5 separate regions of the Homo sapiens genome follow, and all the other regions are linked to region 1. The links are contacts of gene promoters, found by promoter capture Hi-C in blood cells and fetal thymus (Javierre and others, 2016). All regions are on one chromosome and are shown on one strand. The core of a region is centred on a gene start or on the middle of the fragment in contact, and the rest is flanking DNA. Distances in the headings are between cores, read along the strand shown. Region 1 holds the start of OGFRL1 (opioid growth factor receptor like 1). Region 2 has its middle 94 kb from the start of LINC01626. Region 3 has its middle 110 kb from the start of B3GAT2. Region 4 has its middle 130 kb from the start of B3GAT2. Region 5 has its middle 150 kb from the start of B3GAT2.

Evidence for each region. Contacts are between HindIII fragments. The CHiCAGO score rates a contact against its expected background, and 5 or more counts as called.
Region 2: a fragment that was not itself captured here is called in contact with the fragment with the promoter of OGFRL1 in region 1 in 1 of 17 cell types (endothelial precursors); the score reaches 6.3 in endothelial precursors.
Region 3: a contact is called between a fragment that was not itself captured here and the fragment with the promoter of OGFRL1 in region 1, in 1 of 17 cell types (neutrophils). The highest score is 9.6, in neutrophils.
Region 4: a fragment that was not itself captured here is called in contact with the fragment with the promoter of OGFRL1 in region 1 in 1 of 17 cell types (neutrophils); the score reaches 6.2 in neutrophils.
Region 5: a fragment that was not itself captured here is called in contact with the fragment with the promoter of OGFRL1 in region 1 in 1 of 17 cell types (neutrophils); the score reaches 6.2 in neutrophils.

Annotation. Positions count from the first base shown.
Region 1 is chr6:71,287,463-71,290,060 of GRCh38, forward strand. It overlaps OGFRL1 (opioid growth factor receptor like 1), which reads left to right and starts at 1,349. Exons shown (of 7, transcript NM_024576.5): 1 at 1,349-1,708. The coding sequence starts at 1,475. All of the region lies in intron 3 of LOC124901339 (a long non-coding RNA gene), which reads right to left. RefSeq lists a silencer at 1,002-2,061. The HindIII fragment of the contact is 6,418 bases long and covers 1-2,598 here.
Region 2 is chr6:71,514,122-71,516,719 of GRCh38, forward strand. No RefSeq gene overlaps it. Among named protein-coding and RNA genes, the nearest start is that of LINC01626, 94 kb to the left of the region's middle. The HindIII fragment of the contact is 1,728 bases long and covers 445-2,172 here.
Region 3 is chr6:71,069,713-71,072,310 of GRCh38, forward strand. No RefSeq gene overlaps it. Among named protein-coding and RNA genes, the nearest start is that of B3GAT2, 110 kb to the left of the region's middle. The HindIII fragment of the contact is 2,753 bases long and covers 1-2,598 here.
Region 4 is chr6:71,086,037-71,088,634 of GRCh38, forward strand. No RefSeq gene overlaps it. Among named protein-coding and RNA genes, the nearest start is that of B3GAT2, 130 kb to the left of the region's middle. The HindIII fragment of the contact is 567 bases long and covers 1,007-1,573 here.
Region 5 is chr6:71,102,999-71,105,596 of GRCh38, forward strand. No RefSeq gene overlaps it. Among named protein-coding and RNA genes, the nearest start is that of B3GAT2, 150 kb to the left of the region's middle. The HindIII fragment of the contact is 2,018 bases long and covers 301-2,318 here.

The DNA.
Region 1 (2,598 bases), core at 99-2,598:
AAACAGTCCATCTAACATGATTTGGCTTCCTACTTCATCATGAAACATTTGAAAAGAAACTATTCATTCCAAGTTCAACAGTTTAATCTTCAAATATCTAGCTCATCTTTCTTAGTCCATATTTAACAAATGTTTACTGAGCATCCACCAAGTTGACAGCACTGTAAATACAGACACACTTTCAGACGGGGGCTGCCTGCAAAGAGGCTTCCCTTCTAGTTAGAAAGCCAGAAGACACATTTTACAACAGTCACTTTTCTCTGGGTCACATATTTGATAATACTACCTTATCTTTACGTACTTCTATAGGCTTATGCCTGTAATCCCAGCTATTGGGAGGCTGAGGCAGGAGAATTGCTTGAAACCAGGAGGCGGAGGTTGCAGTGAGCCGAGATCGCGCCTCTGCACTGCAGCCTGGGCAACAGAGGGAGACTCTGTCTCAAAAAGAAAGAAAAGAAAGAACAGAACAACAGAACAGAACAGAACAGAACAGAACAGAACAGAACAGAACAGAACAGAACAGAACAGAAAAAAGAAAGAACTTCCCTAACACAGTTCTCCCTCCTCCTTTCATTTGCAGAACAGACCACAGGGCCGAGGCTTCTTCCATTAGAAACAGCCCATCTGTTCTACTGATTCTGAGATTTTTGCCTACACGGAGCACCAATTTGTAGTGGGTGTAAGGTTACCCGCAAATCAATGTGATGGTCCAGTTGTTACTGTTCCTTTTGTTTCACGAGCGATTGCTCATTAGATGAGGTGACTGATAGCTCTGACTTTTTCTAGACCACAAGGACTCTAGGTGGCTGCCCTAAGTACAGTTGTGGCAGCTGGGATTTCCTGTTTATATGGTGCCCGGCACCATCAGCTTTTGTCCTCTGCTGCAGCTAAAGTGTCTTCCTCCTGGACCAGGGAGAGGGGGAGGGGGTGTGGACAGGACCCGCCTGCTGACGGTGACACCTCTTCGACACCACGTCCACGCCAGTCCTCAGCTCCAGGAGCTGGGCGGGATCCCTCATCCCGCTCAGCTGGGAGATGCCCCGGGAGGGCGTCCCCCGGCTCCGGGCGGCGAGGGTAGTAGCCGACCCCAATCCACTCCGGGGGCCGCCGGGGGCCGCGTGAAGGCAGGTGTTCCGGGGAGAAACGTGGAAGGGAGGCGCGGCCTGGGGCCGGTGGCGCTCGGCTGGGGGCCGCAGTTGGCTCCCCTGGGGGCTCTGGGCGGCGGCAGCTCCCGCCTGTGGGGAGGAGAAGGAGCCGGATGGGCGGGTTCAGGCGCGCGCGGCGGCGGTCCCGGGGCCGCCGGCTCCTCCCCGCGAGGGTGCCTGTCCGCCGCTCGCCGCGCTGAGGCAGTGCGGGGCGGGCGCGCCTAGGCTGCCGCCCAGCGCCCTCGCCGCGGCCATGCCCGGGCCCTAGAGCGCCTGCCGCAGCTTGCGCCCCGCAGCCCCGCAGCCCCGCGCCCGCCGCCGCCTCTTCAATGGGCAACCTGCTCGGCGGGGTCAGCTTCCGCGAGCCCACCACCGTGGAGGACTGCGACTCCACCTGGCAGACCGACTCGGAGCCCGAGCCCGAAGAACCAGGGCCGGGCGGCGGCAGCGAGGGCCCGGGGCAGGAGTCCGAGCAGCCCGCGCAGCCCCCGGAGCAAGCCGGCGGGCGGCCCGGCGCCAGCCCCGCGCCGGACGAGGACGCCGAGGCGGCGGGCGCCGAGCAGGTACGCGGCCCAGCGGTGGCCTCGGGTCGGGCTGGGGCGCCCCGACACCCCAGAGGGGCAAGTGCCAAGCCGCCCTCGCGCTCGGAGGCCAGGGGCGCCAGGTGGCTGCTCGCCGCTGCGACCCGACCCCTCCGCGCCGCGGCTGACCTGTCTCCCGGTGGAGCCCGGGGGCCTGCAGGAGCCCAAAGCGCCGGACCCTCCCACTGCCGGCCTGGGGCCTGGCCGAGGGCACGGCGAGGAAGTCCCTCAAGGCAGAACCCAACTTGAATGGGTGTTTTCTTTGCCTCTGCAGAGCAGCTGGATTATGCGAAGGTGGGGTGGGAGGAACCTGTCTAAAAATAGAGGATTTTGACAACCCCTCTAGTGTGTGTTATTGGTAAAAAAAAAAAAAAAAAAAAAAAAAAAAAAAATTACTCAGAATAAGGTGGGGCTACAAGTGCAAGCAGCCAGCGCTCTCCCCTACAGTGGGGTCTAAGCCGTCAGAAGTGTAGGCCCTCATCTGAAGTTCATACGTCACTGTTCTGCCCAACTCAGGCCTTTCAACCTAGGATTCAGGGCATTCTTCACGAATCTTATTTCACCAGAAGACTTGTTGATCCAACTGTGTTTGAACTGTTTGACTAATACAGCTTGGAGGAGAGGTTAGTCAAGAGATAAGCCCCTTAACCTCTGATGGACTGAAAATAATCAGGAACTTTAAAAAGGAGGAAATATGTAGCCGACCCCCTGAAGAAGTGTGCATCCTGGAGGTGGTTCAGGTTTGCCGCTCCACATTAGGCCCTTCTCTTTATCAGCTAGGGGCGATGGAGATTGGGAAAATGGAGCCCAAAGTCCAATGTGACCACAGGGTTTTGGGGGAATCATAACCTAAATATTACAGCTAACACCGC
Region 2 (2,598 bases), core at 59-2,558, 230 kb after region 1:
ATCAGAAAGGCTGACATCTCATATTAACCATGAATGACACTGGGCTACATATATATCTAACTTACAAGGAAACAAAACATTGTGTAATATAACTATATTAGTCAGAGTTCCCCAGGAAAACGGAACCAATAGGATGTGTATATATATATATATATATATATATATATAGAGAGAGAGAGAGAGAGAGAGAGAGAGAGAGAGAGAGATAGTGATTTATTTTAAGGAATTGGCTTAGTGTGATTGTGTAGCCTGACGAATCCAAAATCTACAGGATAAGCCAGCAGTCTAGACACCCAGGAAAAAGTTGATATTGCAGTTTGAGGCTGAAGGCAGCCTTTTGTAGAATTTCCTCTTCCTTAGGAGAGGTCAGTTTTTTTTTTCTTAAGACTTTTAATGATTGAATGAGGCTCACTCACATTATGGAGGGTAATCTGCTTTACTCAAAGCTTACTTACTGATTTAAATGTTAATCTCATGTAGAAAATGCCTTCATGGCAAAATCCAGATGTGTTTGACCAGACATCTGGGAACTGTGGCCTAGCCAAGTTGACACATAAGATTAACCATTACAAGAATATGGTAAATCAGTTCTCTCACAGATTGATGGTAAATGTACTAACTCTTCAATAATTCAAACAATTTGAATGTTTTATCAAGTTTCAACATATTTACAGTTTTTTTAAGCCAAATAGTTATGTTTCTATTCTATGGAAGTAAACCTAAGTGCATACACAAAGAGCATAAATCATAAAGGAAAAGATTAATGAGTGCAATATATTAAAATTAAAAATTTGTGTGACATTAGACATCATACACAGGTTGAAAGTAAGTAATAAGGCCGGATGTGGTGGCTCACACCTGTAATCCCAGCACTTCGGGAGGCTGAGGCTGGAGGATCACGTCAGTTCAGGAGTTCGAGGCCAGCCTGACCAATATGGTGGAACCCTGTCTCTACTAAAAATACAAAAATTAGCCAGGCGTGGTGTCATGCGCCTGTAGTCCCAGTTGCTCAGAAGGCTGAGACAGGAGAATTGCTTGAACCTGGGAGGCAGAGGTTCTAGTGAACCAAGATTGTGCCACTGCACTCCAGCCGGGGCAACAGACAGAGACGCCATCTCAAAAAAAAAAAAAAAAAAGGAAAGTAAGTAATCAAACAAGAAAGGTATGTGGGACACACAGCAGACAAAAGATTAGTAACCAGAGTACATAGAGAGCTCTTACACTCCTACAGTCAATGAGAAAAAGATTTAAAATCCAATGGAAAACGAGCAAAGGTTAAAGGGCAATTCTTGAAAGAGGACACCTGAATGACTAGCAATCATTTGAAAGAATATGCAGCCTAAATTGTAATTAGAGAAATGCAAATTAAGACAACAGTCAATTTTCAAACTATCAGAAAGACCAAAATTAAAAGTTTAACAATGCCAGCTGTTGGTAAGAATATAAATTGTCATAACTACATTGGAGAATAGTTTACCAATACCTAGGAAAACTGAAGATATGTATACCTTAAAACCTTAAAATTCTCCTCCTAGGTCTATGTAATGTAGGGAAATGTTGGCACATGAACATAGATATGCAGAAAGAATATGTATTATTTGTAGTATTATTTATAAATTCAGAAAAGAGCACATAATTTATGTATCCATCAGCAGAAAAATACATATAGCTTGATATAGTTAGCAAATAAAATATTGTATGGCAATTTAAATAAACTAGATTCATATATATCAGCATGGGTTTATCATGAAAACATGTCATGTGAAAAAAGCAAGTTACAAAATTATATATATCGTATGCTTTCCCTTATCACAACTTTAAAGACATTTAGTTGAGAAAGTCGAGTAAAAGTTTAAGAAATTATATCACTATATTATAGCATACTATGTTACACTATACTATACATGCATATGTAGTAATATTATTTTTTAAAGGAGAGCAAAACATCCACCAACATTAAAATATTGTTTATCTTTACAAAGATGGTGAGGGCAATGGGTGGCTGTGTGTGCATGTGGGCACTCATACTGTGTAAAAAGAAGGGAGTGAGGAGGTACAAAAGGGCTTTAACTGAATATGTAATGTTTTATTTTTTTAAACAGAAACAAGTTCAGCAAATATGGCAAAGTAATATGTTAAGAATGTACAACACCAAGAGTGAACCCTAAGGTAAGCTTCAGGCTCTAGGTGATAACGATGCATCATTCTAAGTTCGTGGATGTTTAAATATGTACCACTTTGGTGCCAAATGTTAATAGTAAGGGAGGCATATGCAGGGGCAGAAGGTATACGTGGACTCTCAACTTTCTGTTCAATTTTGCCGTGAACCTAAAACTGCTCTAAAAGTAGTTTACTAATTGAAAATAATGTTAGGTGATGTTTACACTTTAAAAATTATTATTTGGAGATAGACAAATATTTTAAAAATTTAATAACAATATTAGTTTTAGGTCACTTCAAAATTTTATTTCAGGTGCATGCATTACTGCTATGTTAAATATAAATATAAATAAACTTGAAAATTTACGTCTCAAAAAGCTAAGATTGATATTTCTTGAGGGGAGGTCATTTTAGATGATATACATGTACTTATTAGAT
Region 3 (2,598 bases), core at 50-2,549, 220 kb before region 1:
GATGTATTTTTTTCACATCATTTTATCATTCTCTCAATTAATTTTTCATACTAACTTTGTTCCTTTCTCATCTTTTCAATCTTTACCAAACCTCTTCCCTCATTTCCTTTTTAAAATTGGGAGGTTTCTTGCCTAGATAACAATCTAAATTTGGTAAATCAAATAATTTCCTATATTAAACTTTTTATATTTTTGGGATGATAGTGAATGAATACAAACTTTGAAATGGTGTTCATGTAATTCAGGTATTGAGGAATATTTTTTTTCTAGAACCGTAAGTTGAACAGAACTGGTAACAGATGGCTCAGCCTCAGTGAAAACTATTAAATGCATCTTTAATTGATATTAAATACCTCCCTGTTCTGCAGGAAGCAGAGGAGAAAGAAGATTCACAAACACTGAGATGACTTGATTGTTTGAGCATAGCCATGGTGCATTTTTGTTTATCAAGAAAGCATATGTTATTCTCATCATTAAATGTCCACTAAATTGTGTTGAAACCTGAAAGAAGAATAGAAGCCAAAACCTTGGAGTGTGTAGAAAACACACGAGTGGAAAAACCAGCTCAGCTTGGTTTTCTGATCCTAGCTCTGCCACAGCTGGTGTGACCTTTGGTAAAACAGTAAACTAGTCTCTGGGTGCTCAGGGTTTTACATCTGTAAGTTGGTAAAATCCCTGTCTCCCTGTCTCAGGGGGGCAAATAAGAACTTGGGATGGTCAAATGCTATGAACTCTTTAGCAGATAAAATATATGTTTTCCCTTAAAATATAACCATTGTGGGTAATCAAAATTCTGAAAAGCTGTGATATGAATGGCAAATTCAGTAGCATCAGTAACACAATTAGCACAAAGAGTTCTCTTGCTACAATATAATACAGAAGGACGTAGACTTTGGGTTTTAGTCATAAAATGTTCAAAATGGCTTTATGGCCATGTATCTGAGATAAAACAAAAATTTTATTTTATTTTACAAATTTCCATATGCAACACTGAAAAACAAAAATTTTATAAATAAAATATACCAGACTTTCAGATTGTTGGTGAGTGTTAGTTTTTCTCTTTGGCTTACTTTTCAGTTATTTCCTTACTCAATATTTCCTTTTCAGTATGTCATTTTCCTAGGCTACAAGCTCTCAAGGTCTTCTTTTTCCCCTTCAGGGAAAAAGTTCCCATAGGATCTAAGGGCAATTGACAATGAGGGATTATAGATTCGATGGTTGGAAATAAACTATGATTGTTTCTTATTGCCTTGGTAAAACCAAAATCTCAGATTAAATATATTGTCACTATTATAATTATACTAAAAGGTCTAGTAGATTTTTTATACCCTCTGAGTATCCAAATAAAGCCAGAATTAAAAAAAATCAGACATAATATGTTTTCTGGGAGGAATTTGACAGCAAAGACATTTCCATCTAAGTATAATTAACATTAATTTGTGGAAAAGTAAATGGCAAAAATGATTAATTTATTTTTATTGACTGTATTTTGATTCTTTTAAAATGATTACTGAGTAAGACATAGAATTTGCTTTTATTAAAGAAGAATAAATGTAATCTGCCTTTATTATTTAAAACTGTGCCTGATAGTGCATCGGGAAATAAACAATATGTCATTGACCAGATGCTGGCAGCAAAACAGTATTTCTTCAAGTCTGCAAATATTAAACCACAGATTTGAAAATGCTCTGGAAAATTAGTTTCTCATAAAAATCGTGTAAAGGAATAAATTAGCACCTTATTTAAATGCAAACCAAAGAGTTTTAATAACACCTGCCAAGATGCAGGATTTCAAAGGGAAGTGTGACTTAGGGTTTACTATTTTGTTCTGTAGAAACCAATCTTGAGTTGCTATCTATCACAATTCAATTGGAGACATTCTTTCAATGAAATCAAGTAGAATAGGAGGTACATAGAATAGTTTATAAGAACTACTCAGAAGCAGTTAAACAATACTTTATTAGATCCTACAGGAAGATAATGAAATGTTCTCACCAAAATAAAAATGAACAATTGGGCTGTGGCCCAAGTTTGGTCCTTTGTTATCTAACCCTTTAGAATGAGGATAATGTACGCTCTGCAGAGCCCTTCAGTTTCTATATAAGTATACACAAAAAATAGGCCATCAAATCACAGAACAACAGAGGAAGTAGGGTGTAGAAAAACTTGAACACCATCATTAAGCCAAAAATGCCATATATTTACATGAATATACCAATTATTTATTAAGTGAATATTTTGTTTAGATTCTAGTTCTAAAAAGCCGAGACAAATGGGGCTTAATATAACAATAGTTAGACATGGAATTTGGGACATTTAGGTGCATTTATTTTTTCTGATGATTATTTTTACTGAAGTTTAAAAATATATATAAATACGAGCAAGACTCTTCATAAACAAAGTACACCAGGAACACAGTATCTCTTACGGAAGATAAAGCATTTGCATGCAACACTGTCATAAACTCAAGAAATACCAGAAAATCACTTTGCCATTTCTGCAACGCACTTATAAGGAACACACGTACCCTATTTATGTGAGATCTCACCTGATATAATAACTACTTATAATTTCTGTTTCTATGATACTTGCTTGAGA
Region 4 (2,598 bases), core at 40-2,539, 200 kb before region 1:
ATTAAAAAATGTTACTTTGTATCGACATGTCCTTTGGTATATTTCTATTCTCTGTCTGTATGTTTAGGTGTATTTCAAAATGTCTATTTCAAAGTGAGGATGTAAAACTATTCTTTAGGTAGATGGTGAGGCTTTCTTGAATGGCTGTGGTCTGTATGCTGCTGTTTTCTCTTGAATAAAAATAGAGCAAAAAATGGGTCATCTTAGTTCAGATTTTGCTTTTGGTACATTTCTGAAGTCTCTCTGTGAAAAAAAAATCACCAATTCATAGCTGAAATGGGCCTCACAGATCATGTAATTAAATGGCCTCATTTTACATACGAAGTGGCCCATAAATGTGAAATGATTTGTTTAAGGGTGCTCAGTAATTACCGGCTGGGACAGAACTAGAGCCCAAGTGATACAGTAGAGGGTCAGGGAAGTGCTGGGTAGAGAAGGGCTGGGTCCCTGGCGAGGGCTCCACCCTCGGGCCTGTGCCCACGGACCCAAGTGAGGACAAACACTCCTGTTTCATGATCCGATTTTTCCAGTACACTAGGGCAAGAACCCTGGGATACAGAAAGCCCGCTGTCCTTGAAATAAGGCAAAGGGTCTAATTGAGCTGTTTAACACAAGCCACTTGCAGACAGCAAAGCCGAAAGAGCACACTGTAACACACACCCACTGGGGCTTCGGGAGCTGGAAACACTCAACCCTAGATGCTGCCATGGGTCGGAGCCCAAAACTGCCCCCCATGACCTGACCATCCTCATGCTTCCCCTAGGGGTTTGAGCAGTGGAGCACCAAAGAAGTGAGCCACACCACCATTGCACACCTGGTGAGGGGAATAAGGGAAAACCTCCCATTTCACAAGGTTTGCTTGCTCTGAACTCAGTGCTTTCTGGATCACACTGTGATTGACCTCGGAAGATGGCCCAAGCATCTCTTTCCAGGCCACCTCTGTTTCTACCTTAGAATATAATTTTCCCTCCCTGTGTAGCAGTGAGAAAGAGAAGAAATTCTTCAAAGCTTAATAGAAACTGATATTCCTTCTGCCAGAGACGTTTTTTAACATATATATTTTTTATGATTCTATGCTTGTTTCTGAATTTAAAATCAGCTTATTTAAATAAGGTATACTTGTTATTTTTACCTGTAGTCCTTCCATAAATTTTCTTTGCAAGCATATTTTTTTTTGATATGGACATTTCTTTCTTTCTTTTCTCTTCAAAAGATATTACTAACATTGCTTATTTTTCTTAGTCTCCTATGGCCTCATCCCAGTGCTTGGTAGCTTTATTTTTTTTAGTGCTCTTTTGTCTCCTGAATAACATTTCAGATAACAGAGTCAGATTTTCTGTTAGTTTGCCTTGGTTTTTCTTTTTAATGTTGATGCTAATGTTGATGCCAGAAGAATCTCTCTACCTACATATCACACCTGCTTTGTGACAGTAGGTGAGTTTTTCCATAGGCAGGACATCGCTCTGAGTATACTGTGCATATATGGATCACGAGGTAGGGCAGGGTGTGTCTGCTGATAAGCACTAGCTGGTAGGAAGCTAGCTGAAACTCCAATCCCACACCTTAAACCTTAAGCTTTTCCAGATGGTTAATTCAGTTGCTTTAGAAATGACCCCTCTATCTTGACTAGGAGTAAAATGCCCTACTATGCCCTTAGTGTTGGGATAGTGACGAGAGATAAAGGATGAGGATTAGGGTGGGGAATCTGAAGTGCACTGTCATTCTCATAAAGACTTTCAGTGAACTCACCCTCACCCCATTTCAGTTCCATCTCTCATCCTGTTTTGCAGCAATAGAGAACTAATATATATTCAAAAGCTTCTATGTGATCTAGAAATGAATTAAAGAGTTGTGAGTGACAGAGTGAGTAACTGAGATGGAAAAAAACTTCAGGCTAGTTCAGAGTGTAGTTACTAGGTAGGACCCTAACTACAATCTGTGAAACATGAGATTTGCAGGTGTAGGCCAAGGAATAAGTAGATTTGGGTTGTTGAAAAGTGGAAAAGTTTCCTACTGTTGAAGAGAGGAAAGTTTCAAATCATTATAAATGGAAACGTAAAGACAAGAGCATGATAAGTTATTACACTGAGGCCTGGGTTAAAAAAAAATTAGATTGAGGTCAAAAAAATATTACATGGCCATACTGAAAAGCATAGCCTTAATCTCTGGAGCTGTAAGAAACATAGGGCTCACTTAGTCAGAACCTTTTTTGCACAAAGAGAGCGATGAAACATAAAGAGGTTAGTGATGTGAACCTTTAAGTCATATCTTAATCCCACCAAGCCCATTATACTGTAAATGTAGACAGCCTGGAATCATTTTACATCTCTGCTCTGGTCTTCCTCATTACACATTTGATTCATTTCCAAGGACGAAAGTGTAAATGTGCTTTCAGGATGCTGACTGTTCAATAATTTATGTAAGGCTGTAAACACATTTCAGCACACTTAGGAAACAGATTTTTCTTTTTTTTTTTTTTTATAGCGCAGTCTCTAAACAATTTCTGGTCAATTCAAATCCCTTGTGATCAGTGGTGTTGTCATTTCCATCTTTTATAACATTCAGAAAATCTATCCTAAAATGTACTTCTTACCATGT
Region 5 (2,598 bases), core at 60-2,559, 180 kb before region 1:
TCTGATTCTTTCTACTCCATCCTTCCTCCCTGCTCATTATAAGGTCTGACCTCCATTATGATCTGAAGGCTCTTCCTACCAGTATTAATTTGCCAGGGCAGCTGTAACAAATTACCACACAGTTGGTGGCTTCAAGCAACAGAAATTTATTCCCTCACAGTTTTGGAGGCCAGTTTAAATCAAGGTGTCAGCAAGGCTGTGCTTCCTCTAGAGGCTCGTGGGAGAATTTTTCCTTACTGCATCCAGCTTCTGATGGCTCAAAGAATTCCTTGGCTTGCATCACTCCAATCTCTGCCCCAAAGCTTTCTCTGTCTTTCCATTATAAGTCATTATCATTGGATTTATGGCTCATCTGGATAATGTTGGATGATGTCATCTGAAGATCCCTAACTTTGTTACTTCTGCAAAGACTCTTTTTTTTCCCCCCAGATATGGCCACATTCCCAGGTTCTGGGATATGGACTTATCTTTTTGGTGGCCATCAGTCAAGTGAACACTGGATCGCCTTCTCTGGATCTCCCCCTTTATTCTTCACATGTGGGCCCCCCAATAAATGGGTCTTATCTTAGCAGCTGCTTCTTGAAGGACTTGAACCAACCACAAATCATTGAGCTAAAAAGCTAGTCCTGCCATTAGGAACGCCACTGCCTGTGTGGTTCCTCTGAGACACAGCCTCAGCTTGTGATGCAGGTCAGAGCCCTGTGAAGAAGAGGAAGCCCTGGACTGGGTAGCGAGAATCTCACACAGAGGAGCAGTTCTGGGAAAGATCTGGCCAGGCCAGCAGGGAATCCCTGAGCCCATTAGAAGAGTGCTGAGTCTCACAGGCAGAGCCTGCTGTAGTTCACCTACTATGCTCCACCATTAGCAGGGAGCAGCAGGCTGAGGCACATGGGGCCCAGGCAGGAGTGTGGCAGCCCCTGGGGCTGTCAACTCACTGTGCTCTTTGCTGCAGCACATCTGGGAAGCTCCTTTTCATGGCCAATAACATCCACCCCTTGTACTGAACAGATGTACTTTTTCCATCCAGGTTTGGGAATAGAACCTCAATGATTCCAGTGGGCCTCTCTGAGGAGAAACTTAAAAGAGGCAGTGCTATGGTCGGAATGTTCGTATGTTGAAACCTAACCCCCAGTGTGGTATTAGGGGGTGGGCCTTTGGCAGGGCAAAGCCCTCATGACCTAATCACCTCCTAAAGGCCCCACCTCCTAATGGGGTTAGTGTCCTTATAAAAGAAGCCCGAGAGAGCTGCCTTGCCCCTTCCACCACTGAGAACACAGCTAGAAGGCGCCACCTGTGAATCAGGCAATGAATCTTCACCAGATACTGAATCTGGTGAGAGCTTGACTTTGGCCTTCTCAGCTTCCAGAACTGTGAGAAATAAATTTCTGTTGTTTATAAGTCACTCAGTTGATGTTTTGTTTGTTTGTTTGTCTGTTTGTTGTTATAGCAGCCTGAGCAGACTAAGACAGGCAGGTTACTCTATTAAGAACAAACTAAGTCCCTGCCACTGTAGTTGGTCTCAGGGCCACATGCGTTCCTCTTCCTCCCCGTCCTCCACTCTCTACTCTAAATTCCCATCACCCTCAGCTGTCCCCTCAGCAGGTTGTGGTGGTTTGCCTTTGGAAGGTGTGATTCAAACCTTCACTGCTGCAGGGTCAAAACCCTTGGTAATCCCACCCTTGCTTTGGGGCTATTGCACATGTGCATCCACAGTACAGTGGAACAGGGAGAAGAACCCTTCCATTCCTAAACCCAGGTATTCTTGCTGTGGTGAGAGTGCCATTTTGAAATTTCTAATTTAATGTGTACAGTGTATCAAGAAGGATGGCACCCTATCTTTCGGAGTGCTGTCTCTGAGCTGGCACTTCAGCGTGCCCTCACAAAGCCATTCCCAAACTCTATGAGGCTGGCTGCTTCTGCATGAACACTGTGTGATATAACAAGTGGTCAGGGGCACAATCCCCCATATCTCATGGTGAGGGAAGTGACAGAGTGTGCAGTAGCCTCCATTTATCCTCTTTCCAGATCCATTTTCTGTTCTGTGCCTTGCTCTATTTCCCAGAAGGTGAAGACTTTGGGATATCATCACCAGGTTGGATTCAGGCAATGGGGGTGAGGCGGGTGGCTGGGAGGAAGAACCACGAAATTGAAGGGAAGGTGGATAAAAAGTTTCAGATTTTTTTTTTTCTGCCAGTCTTCCCTGCTTTGGTCCAACAGAGGCTGTGCCCCTCCATGTGCTTTCATAGTTACCATTCTCACTAGACTCCAGATTCACTCTTTCCTCGGGGTGGTAATAGCTTCCCTCCACATTTCCCTTAAGCTTGCCCCGGTTAGATACTAGTCTGTGTGGATCTCAAGCCTATGAATTAGGCCCCAGATAGTGGTGCTGGATGAGGTTTTGAGGACAGGTGAAGGAAAACCATACAGGGGATAGGTTTCCAGCCCTGGGAGAGTGAATGCCAGCCCTTCCAGGATAGAAGGGGTCCCCGGTAGCAACTTGCCACCCAGTGGTCAGTTGGTCTCTGAGGAATAAACCATATTGGGGGCTCAATATTGGTCTCTCTTCCTAGCAGGTTAGACATTCAGAGGCAGCAATAG